Regions from separate parts of the Homo sapiens genome. Here region 2 is linked to region 1. The links are contacts of gene promoters, found by promoter capture Hi-C in blood cells and fetal thymus (Javierre and others, 2016). All regions are on one chromosome and are shown on one strand. The core of a region is centred on a gene start or on the middle of the fragment in contact, and the rest is flanking DNA. Distances in the headings are between cores, read along the strand shown. Region 1 overlaps ZMYND15 (zinc finger MYND-type containing 15). Region 2 holds the start of INCA1 (inhibitor of CDK, cyclin A1 interacting protein 1).

Region 1 (4,289 bases), core at 1,261-3,760:
TACCAAAAATACAAAAATTAGCTGCACGTGGTGGCAGGCGCTTGTAGTCCTAGCTACTTGGGAGGCTGAGGCAGGAGAACCACTTGAACCCGGGAGGCGGAGGTTGCAGTGAGCCAAGATTGTACCACTGTACTCCATCCTGGGCAATAAGAGCGAAACTCCATCTCAAAAACAAAACAAAACAAAAAACACATGGGAAGTTCCACAGTGAGAGAGCGCGTCTTTATTTAGAAGCATCTGGCTGCAGAGTTGACAGGGGAAGGAAATGGCATGAGATCAGCCTGCAGAGGTTGGCAGGGACCACATCAGCAGAACCTTGTCATCTCGATCTAACTACTGGTTGACAGGAACTGAAGAAGATAAATGAACACATGAAAAAACACCCTGAGGAAGTAATCAGCCAGCTCCTGAGTGAGGAACATTTTACGGGACAAATGATTCTGTGTCTTGTCAAATCAGTGTCATGAAATAAAAAATAAAAGCCAAGGAGGTATGTTACAAAATGAAAGAGACTTAAGAGTAACATCAACAGGGCTGGGTGCGGTGGCTCACGCCTATAATCCCAGCACTTTGGGAGGCCGAGGCAGGCGGATCACGAGGTCAAGAGATTGAGACCATCCTGGCCGACATGGTGAAACCCTGTCTCTACTAAAAATACAAAAATTAGCTGGGCGTGGTGGCGTGCGCCTGTAGTCTCAGCTACTTGGGAGGCTGAGGCAGGAGAATTGCGTGAACCCAGGAGGCGGAGGTTGCAGTGAGCCGAGATTGCACCACTGCACTCCAGCCTGGGCGACTGAGCAAGACTCCTTCTCAAAAAAAAAAAAGAGTAACATCAACAGGACTTAATTGTTCACCTTAATCCCTTGGTTAAGGTGGTATCTGCCAGGTTTCTCCTCTGTTTTTCCCTATCTATACTCAGTGACTGAAGTCATTAAGGGCAGCCCACACTGTTAAGAGCTAAGGGAAGTCACTGAAGGGACTGAAGCGAGGGAGAAATGAGGTCAGATGTCTTTTTTTTTTTTTTTTGAGACAGAGTCTCACTCTGTCACCCAGGCTGGAGTGCAGTGGCGCGATCTTGGCTGCCACCTCCACCTCTCAGGTTCAAATGATTCTCCTGCCTCAACCACCTGAGTAGCTGGGATTACAGGCCCATGCCACCACACCCGGTTAATTTCTTTTCTTTTCTTTTTTTTTTTTTTTTGAGATGGAGTTTCACTCTTGTCCCCCAGGCTGGAGTGCAATGACGCGATCTCGGCTCACTGCAACCTCCGCCTCCCAGGTTCAAACGATTCTCCTGCCTCAGCCTCCCAAGTAGCTGGGATTACAGGCATGTGCCACCATGCCCGGCTAATTTTGTATTTTTAGTAGAGACGGGGTTTTCTCCATGTTGGCCAGGCTGGTCTCGAACTCCTGACTTCAGGTGATCCACCTGCCTCGGCCTCCCAAAGTGCTGGGATTATAGGCGTGAGCCACCGTGCCCGGCCCTCAGATGTCTTTTTTTGAGGAGGAATACTCTGGGCTGCAATGTGGCGATGAGATACGGTGGAGTTTGCAGCAGGAATGGACATACCTTGATGGACTTGAGTGATTTCAGAAGAGCTCAGCAGGAGTTGATTATTGAATACGAGGTGGTGAGAAAAGGTGGAGTTGGGTGGCTGGGGCCTTTCACTGAATCCAAACCAAGGATCTGTGTGGTCCCAGGAGGTTGATTGCTTCTCCCGCCCCCAGGAAGAAGCCACTTTCCTTGCCTTGGGGCCGGTCCCTGAGGGTTACCGGGGCTGGAAAGTGACTAGCCAACACATAATTAGGAGAACCATGGGATTACCAAGGAGGGTCACAATCCCTGACTGTGAGTTAAAGAAATGACAGCCGTTGAGGGGACTAAAAGGGTCTGGGGGAAAGTAAGTCATCCCTAACTCCTTTTCCGATGCGGGCGGATCACCTGAGGTCAGGAGTTCGAGACCAGCCTGGCCAATATGGCGAAACCCTGTCTCTACTAAAAATACAAAAATTAGCCGGGTGTGGTGGCGCATGCATGTAATCCCAGCTCCGGAGGGTGAGGCAGGAGAATCGCTTTAACCCGGGAGGCAGAGGTTGCAGTGAGCCGAGATCGTGTCCCCTGCACTCCAGCCTCGGTGACAAGAGGGAAACTCCGTCTCAAAAAACAAACAAACAAAAAAATCTTTCTCTTCGTTCCCAGTTTAATGGCCCAATTATGAGCGTGTAATCAAAAGATCCATGACTCAGTGGTTTCAAACAAGTAATTTTATTTACCTTTTCATGTTTTACCAACCTGTCCTCCCCCTAGGCCTTGAGTGTTTTCACGTTTTCCTTTCAGTGTTTGGGAGCTGGGGACTACTAGGGTATCAGCATTCATTTCCGCCGGCGGGCCCCCCGCCCAGGTTTCTTTTCTCCTCGGCGCCTTCGGGTGGGGGCAGGAGGAGCAGAGGGAGTTGGGGATGGGGGTGGGGGCCCGGGCGCCGGGCGGGCCCCGCTCCCTTGAGCAGGCTTGTAAACCAGGTGGAAGATGAAGGCATTGCAGTACCTGCGGGGGCGCGGGGCGCAGTCAGGGACCACGGGGCGGGACTCCCAGGGGTCGGCGCTCCCAGGGGTCGGGGCTCCCAGGGGCGCGGTCAGGGACCAGGGGGCGGGGCTCCACCGGGCGGTCAGGGACCAGGGGGCGGGGCTTGCCCCTCTGAGTTCCAGGGCGTGGGGCTAGACTCAGGGTTGGGTCTGTTGGAGGGTCGCGGGGTCTTTTGTGGGTTGGGGAGATTCCGTGAGCTAGATCTAAAGAGGGGTGTGCTGGGGGATGTCGAGACCTCCCATGGGGGCGACGAGTAGTGGGGACAGAGAAGGCAGGTTGCTGGGCTGGGGGCAGGAGGGCCCCAGGACAGCAGGGACTAGGGTAGAGGTGGGCCTTCGAGGATGTGGAGCCAGAGAGTAAGAGAAGTTAAGGGTCAGGAAGGAAATAGGGTCGCAGACCCTTACCAGGACATGCAGTTGTCGGCCGCTCTGAGGCGAAAGGGGGAGCGGAAGGGGTTGGGCTGGGGAGGGCTGGTGCCCCCTCCAGTGGCCACCGCCATGGTCTGGCCGTCCATCACACAGCTGTACTCGCTGCTCTCGGTGAAGAAGGCTGGCACTCGGAGGGACTGGGGTGGAGCGAGAGTCGCTCTGAGAGGCCCCTCCCCAAATCCATCCCAGCAGCCAGAATGACAGACCGGGCTGAAAGCCGAGGTCCCCGGACAGACCGGGCGGAGGGGAGCAGGGGGAGGACGGAGACAGACACAGAGAGAGGCAGGGGGACCCGTGGGCACTCCCCAGGTTTGTGGAGCAGGTGATGGTGAAGAGGAGGAGAGCCCAGAGACTTTCAGAAAAGGAGATGGGGAGGGGCCAGGCAGGAGGGGAGAGAAGTTCCCTTTTGCCCCCATTGCCCACCTGTAACCGGGGCAGAGACCTCAGCCACGTATCCTTGAGAGCAAACCCGGAGTTAAATCCTGCAGACAGAGAGGAGGGAGAAGCTGGCTCCCACGGTGGGCTTCTCTCCCACCTTCCCCACATGCCTAACCCTGAGACCCAGGCTTTTACCAATAACCAGGTCAGGCTTGGGCCCCTGGAACAGGTGGTAGGGCCTTGCTGACACCTTGATCTGCAGGTCCCTGCGGCCCCCTTTCTCCTTAGTGCCAGAGCTGGGCCGTGCTGATATGCCGGAACCAGGCCGGACAGACACCTCCAGGCTGTCCTGAGGGGCCCCAGGAGTGGGGTGGAAAAGCCACTGGAAGTCAGGGAACTGGAGGATGCACCAGGCAAGATGGGGAGTGGGGGGCAGAAGGGCAGGACCCAACCAGGAGGTCACTGGAGGGGTCAGGGCTGAAAAGCAGGGCCCCCTCAGCCCTCACCCTCTGCAGGGTAAAATGCTGCTCGTCGCTTTCGGGGGGCAGGCCATCACCTACAAACTGCAGCTCCAGGGCCACATGGGGGAGCAGGACCAAAAGCTCCTGAAGGACAGAAAGAAAGAAAGATCTGGGGTCTACCCTGTGCCCACCCCCATACCAAAATGCCCAACCTTCAGGCCTGGGGTGACTTACCCAAAACACCATGACAAGGTCAAACTCCTTCCCGGCCTCCACCACGTGGATCTTCAGTGACTGTTTGTTTTGGATGTTGAGCTCAGGGACTGGGTGAAAAACCAGCGCTTTAAGGATGTGGTCCACTCTCACTCCCCCATCCTGCTCCACCCCCCACTCCGCTCTCCTTACAGGACTGGGGCACCAGGTGGGTGATGACGTAGT
Region 2 (4,289 bases), core at 1,790-4,289, 250 kb before region 1:
GGGCAATGGAGGGCTCCAGGCCAACATTCCCCCTCCCAGGGACTGGGAACACGGGAAAGGCCAGCCTGCCCCAGCCCCCGCCCTTACGACTAGCACCTGCTCTGTGCCCAGCATTACCCTCCTCTTAGTTTGGCCCAGCGGGACTGGCCTGTGTGGTGGGCCCGGCCTTCCCTGCCTGTGCCCAGCCAGGCCCCGGGGACTCACTCACAGGTGGTGTTGCCCTGCATGCTGACCACACACTTGGCATCCTGGCTGGTCTCACGGGCGTTAAAGGGCCGAACCCTCACTGCCACTTTCACCGAGGCACCAGCCATAGCTCCAGACACTCCTGCCCTCCTCAGCTGGAGGACAGAGAAAGGAGTGGTGGGGTCAGAACCACTGCAGGGACCCAGACATTGCCTCCCAGCTTCTTCCCGGAACCAGTCTCTTCACATCTCCCCCAGAGCCACCCAGCCTCTCAAGGACCCAGCTCTTATTCCCTTGGCTTTCCTCCCAAATGTCACTGTCTTGAGAGACTCCCAAAGGTATTTCTGCCTCTCTCCCCAGCCATATTCCAGCTTGCAGGAACCTGGGCGGTCTCCCCCAGTTACCTGGCGTCCTGGCCCCAGACCAGGGGGGCTGTATCAGTTCTGGCTGCCACCGGCCCTCGTAGGGGGAGCCCCATCCTACTCCTGGGGCCTGGCCACACCAGCTGGGGCTCTGGGAGATACCCTGATTGCGGGGGAAGAGTTGTTAGAAGGCACCTGTGGTTCCAGAGACCCGTCTGGGGTTCCCAGGTTGGAGGGCCAAGGTTACGGGGGGAATAGCAGGAAAAGTACGGACAGCTGCCCCTCTAGAGTGGCTGAATGCAATGTGAATCCAAGGGCAGGGACGGTGATATTTTTATTCCTTGTCACTCGCAAATGTACTGAACGTTCAGATAGAGGACAGAGAGAGAAAGAGGCTGGACAGAGGGCAATTCAGAGAGAGGGGCACATGGGCAGAGACGTGAGGGGGGTGGGAAGAGAGAGAGGAGGGGCAGAGAGTCACAGACACCAAGAAAATTAGAGAAATAAGACAAAAGGCAAGCCTGAGGTCATGCTATGAAGGAAAGAATGGGAGAGGAAAGGAGGAAGAGACACAGCACAGCAAACACACGGTGTTAAAGAGACAGGGTGGGGAACTCCGGCGCCAAAGCACAAACTGGGAGCCCAGAAGAGAGACCAGAGAGGAAACTGCAAATGCAAAACCTGTCCTCAAATTCCCCCACAGTGTCGGCAAGGGAGAATCTAGTTTCCACCTGAGGCCCACAACCTCCATGCACCAGGCCAGTAGTGCAGATGGGCAAAGTCCAAGGACTGTAGGTAGGGCCCAGGACTGGGATCCACAGGGCCAGCTGTGTGGGCTCTAAGCCCCTTGCCCAGCCCCCAGCACTTCCTCCTCAGGATCCGGGACAATGAGCAGGGGAGGGTGGGGTCATCCTGTAGCCATCAGACCAACCCTCAGGGCTCCACCCTTGGGGCGCCCAGAAATACCTGTGTTTGAGGGTAGAGGGTCCCTGGGGCCTCCCTAAAAGGGAGAAAGAAAAGGAAGCCGGCTGGCTGGTGCCAGCCCCAACCTGGGGCTAGTGCTATGGCGTCCACTGCCCTGGGGAAGGTGCCAGGCTGGAGCCCAGGAATGTGGGTGATCGGGTGCCCACACCCTGGGAGGAGAGGCTGAGCAGCCCACGCCCACGGACAACAGGGAGGAGGACCACGAAGGATAAGGGATGCGGAGCCCCCTCCTGTGGCCCCAGTGGACCCCAAACTCCTGTCACGCTGGGCCTCCCCTCACCAGTCTTCCTGGGCAGAGCATGGGAGGGTGAGGGGCTGGTCTGTCCCAGGACAGGAAGGGAGTAGCTGGAATCACAGAAGCTGGCTCAGGAAGAACAGCCCTGACCCCCTAGACCCTGACCAGGGGAGGGAAGGACACTGGTGGGGACAAGCGATGGTGACGCCGTTGCTGCAGCTAATGGGACAGGGATGGGGTGGCACGGCTGGGGGCCAGCGGGGTAAGGGAATAGAGGTAGGGACAGGGGTCGGCCGGTGCAGCTGTGAAGGAGCCGTGGGGTACAAGGAGGATACTGGGCGGCTGGGGTGGGGCCGACCGGCCCGAAAGGGGGTCTTGGGCCACCTGCACCTTGCCCACCCGGCGGTTCTCACACAGGTCCCCGCCCGGCCTCTCAGGGCGGCCATGCGGACCCGTCCTCCTGTCCAGCCAGCCGGCGGCCGCCCGGGCCTGGCACCTCTCTGCGCCTCCGCGGAACAAACAGCACATGATCCCGACTCTTGAGCCTAGATCGCGCCGCCGGACCCCGGCTCCCCGCCCCCCAACCCGGCACATTCCTCCGCGGGCGTCCCTTCCCTCCCCCTTCCCCAGCCCTCACCTCGGCGCGGCGGGGCTCCCGGAGCAGCTCGGCGGAGAGGGACAAGCTTTCCGGGAAGCGTGAGGCGGAAGCGGGAAGGATCTGGGGCCGGTTCGGAGCTGCCCCCGCCCCTCGCCGGGTGCCCGGGCGGCGGGCGGCGGACTCGCGCCCCGGGGGCGGCAGCAGTAGCGGCGCCAGCGGCCGGCGCCCGCCCGGGCAGCGCGAGCTGGGGCGGGAGCGAGGGGCGGGGGACGCGCGAGCGCGCGCGGAGGGGCGGGTACGCGCGGTCCCGGGAAGGAGCCGGGAGCGACCCGGGCTACTCTTGTTAAAGGGGCAACGCTCCTGGCCTGTGGGGCCCAGCGAGCGGGAACGTGGGGACCGAGCTGCGGACGCAGAAGGGCGAGCAGACGCCGCAACCCAGGAGGGTTGCAGACGCCTGAAGAACAGGGAAACGTCGGGGGCTGACCCGCGGGGGCACCCAGGCCCCGGCCCAGTTCCCGTCGCCGCCGTTGGAGGCGCGTCCAGGGGGCGGAGCCTCCTGCCGAGGCCCGCCCAGAAGGTGGCTCCGCTCAGGCCCCGCCCTCAGACGAGCACCGCCCGCCGGCTCCTCCCGCGGCTCGAATCGCCGTCTCTCTCCTCCCCGCCCCGCCGAGTTCTAGAATTCGCCGCGCAGCTGCTTCAGGTGCTGGGGCCAAATGCGGCCGGCCGTGGCGCGGCTACTCGGGCGCTCTGTCCCCGCCTGGCCCTCAAGTTCGGCCGCCCTGGACGCCGCCTGAGGCCCAAACAACCCCTTCAGGCCCGGGTGCCGCCTAAGGCCGGAGCTGCCCTCTCAGACCCGGGGCGTCCCTCAGGCCCCAGCCTGCCCTTCAGCCTGGGCCCACCACCTCAGGGCCCCTCTCGAGGGAAGCAGCCCCCAGTCGTGCCCTCGGGCGGGGCTGCCCGGAAGGTCCGGCCACGCCCGGTCCACCTGTCGAGGGTCCCCGTCGCCCTTTCAGGCGCAGGCCGCGCCCTCCGGCCCGGCGCTTCCCTCCAGCGGGGCTCCAGGCAGCCCCTCAGCCCCAGCCGGACCCTCGGGTCCTCATCCACCCTCGCAGGCGCAGGCCGTGGCTACCCCGAAGTCAACTGTGGAGGATCCTTCCTGGCTTCCTTCAGCTCCATCCTGCCCTTGGATCTAGGTCACCCGCTTGGACCCAACTATCTGAGGCCCGAATGCCCCGCAGCTCCCGCTGCTCCCTCGCGTTCTGCTGACCCCCCTCCGAGTCAGGACATCCCCTTTAGACCCCACTTTAGGCCCTTTCAGCCCAACTCCAACTAGCCCCATCTGCCGCTTCCGCACGGTATACTTCTCTCCGCTTTTGACCTCACCTGCTTTCCCAGCCCATCCCTAGTTCCCTTGGATAAATACTAGTTCACCTCTACAGTTCCAGCTGGCTGCTTCTGTCCTTCGGGAGCCTATGTGCACTCTCTCCTAACTTATCTAGTATTCTTTTTTTTTTTTTTTTTTTTTTTTTGAGACGGAGTCTTGCTCTGTTGCCCAGGCTGACCTCGGCTCACGGCAACCTCCGCCTCCTGGGTTCAAGCGATTCTCCTGCCTCAGCCTCCCGAATAGCTGGGATTACAGATGCCTGCCACCACACCCGGCTAATTTTTGTATTTTTAGTAGAGACTGGGTTTCGCTGTGTTGGCCAGGCTGGTCTCGAACTCCTGACCTCAAGTGATCCGCCCACCTCAGCCTCCCAAAGTGCTGGGATTACAGTCTTGAGCCACCGCGCCTGGCTTTTTTTTTTTTCTTCTTAGAAACAGGGTCTCACTCTGACGCCTAGGCTGGAGTGCAGTGCAGTGGTGCGATCTTACCTCACTGCAGCCTTGACCTCCCGGGCTCAGATGACACTCCCACCTCAGCCTT

The links. The method cuts DNA at HindIII sites, captures the fragments that hold promoters and counts their contacts. A CHiCAGO score of 5 or more calls a contact.
Region 2: the fragment with the promoter of INCA1 here is called in contact with a fragment that was not itself captured in region 1 in 4 of 17 cell types (monocytes, M1 macrophages, M0 macrophages and 1 more); the score reaches 6.0 in monocytes.

What each region holds. Positions count from the first base shown.
Region 1 is chr17:4,744,075-4,748,363 of GRCh38, reverse strand. ZMYND15 (zinc finger MYND-type containing 15) reads right to left here. Exons shown (of 14, transcript NM_001136046.3): 8 at 4,257-4,289; 9 at 4,086-4,174; 10 at 3,897-3,995; 11 at 3,586-3,739; 12 at 3,436-3,494; 13 at 2,989-3,149; 14 at 2,251-2,545. The coding sequence ends at 2,374. Among named protein-coding and RNA genes, the nearest start is that of CXCL16, 6.3 kb to the right of the region's middle. The HindIII fragment of the contact is 6,114 bases long and covers 1-4,289 here.
Region 2 is chr17:4,996,272-5,000,560 of GRCh38, reverse strand. It overlaps INCA1 (inhibitor of CDK, cyclin A1 interacting protein 1), which reads left to right and starts at 3,039. Exons shown (of 7, transcript NM_001394789.1): 1 at 3,039-3,065. KIF1C (kinesin family member 1C) reads right to left here and starts at 2,611. Exons shown (of 23, transcript NM_006612.6): 1 at 2,405-2,611; 2 at 591-711; 3 at 209-341. The coding sequence starts at 314. RefSeq lists enhancers at 1-294, 295-906 and silencers at 2,149-2,248, 2,299-3,168, 3,209-3,298. The HindIII fragment of the contact is 6,815 bases long and covers 2,453-4,289 here.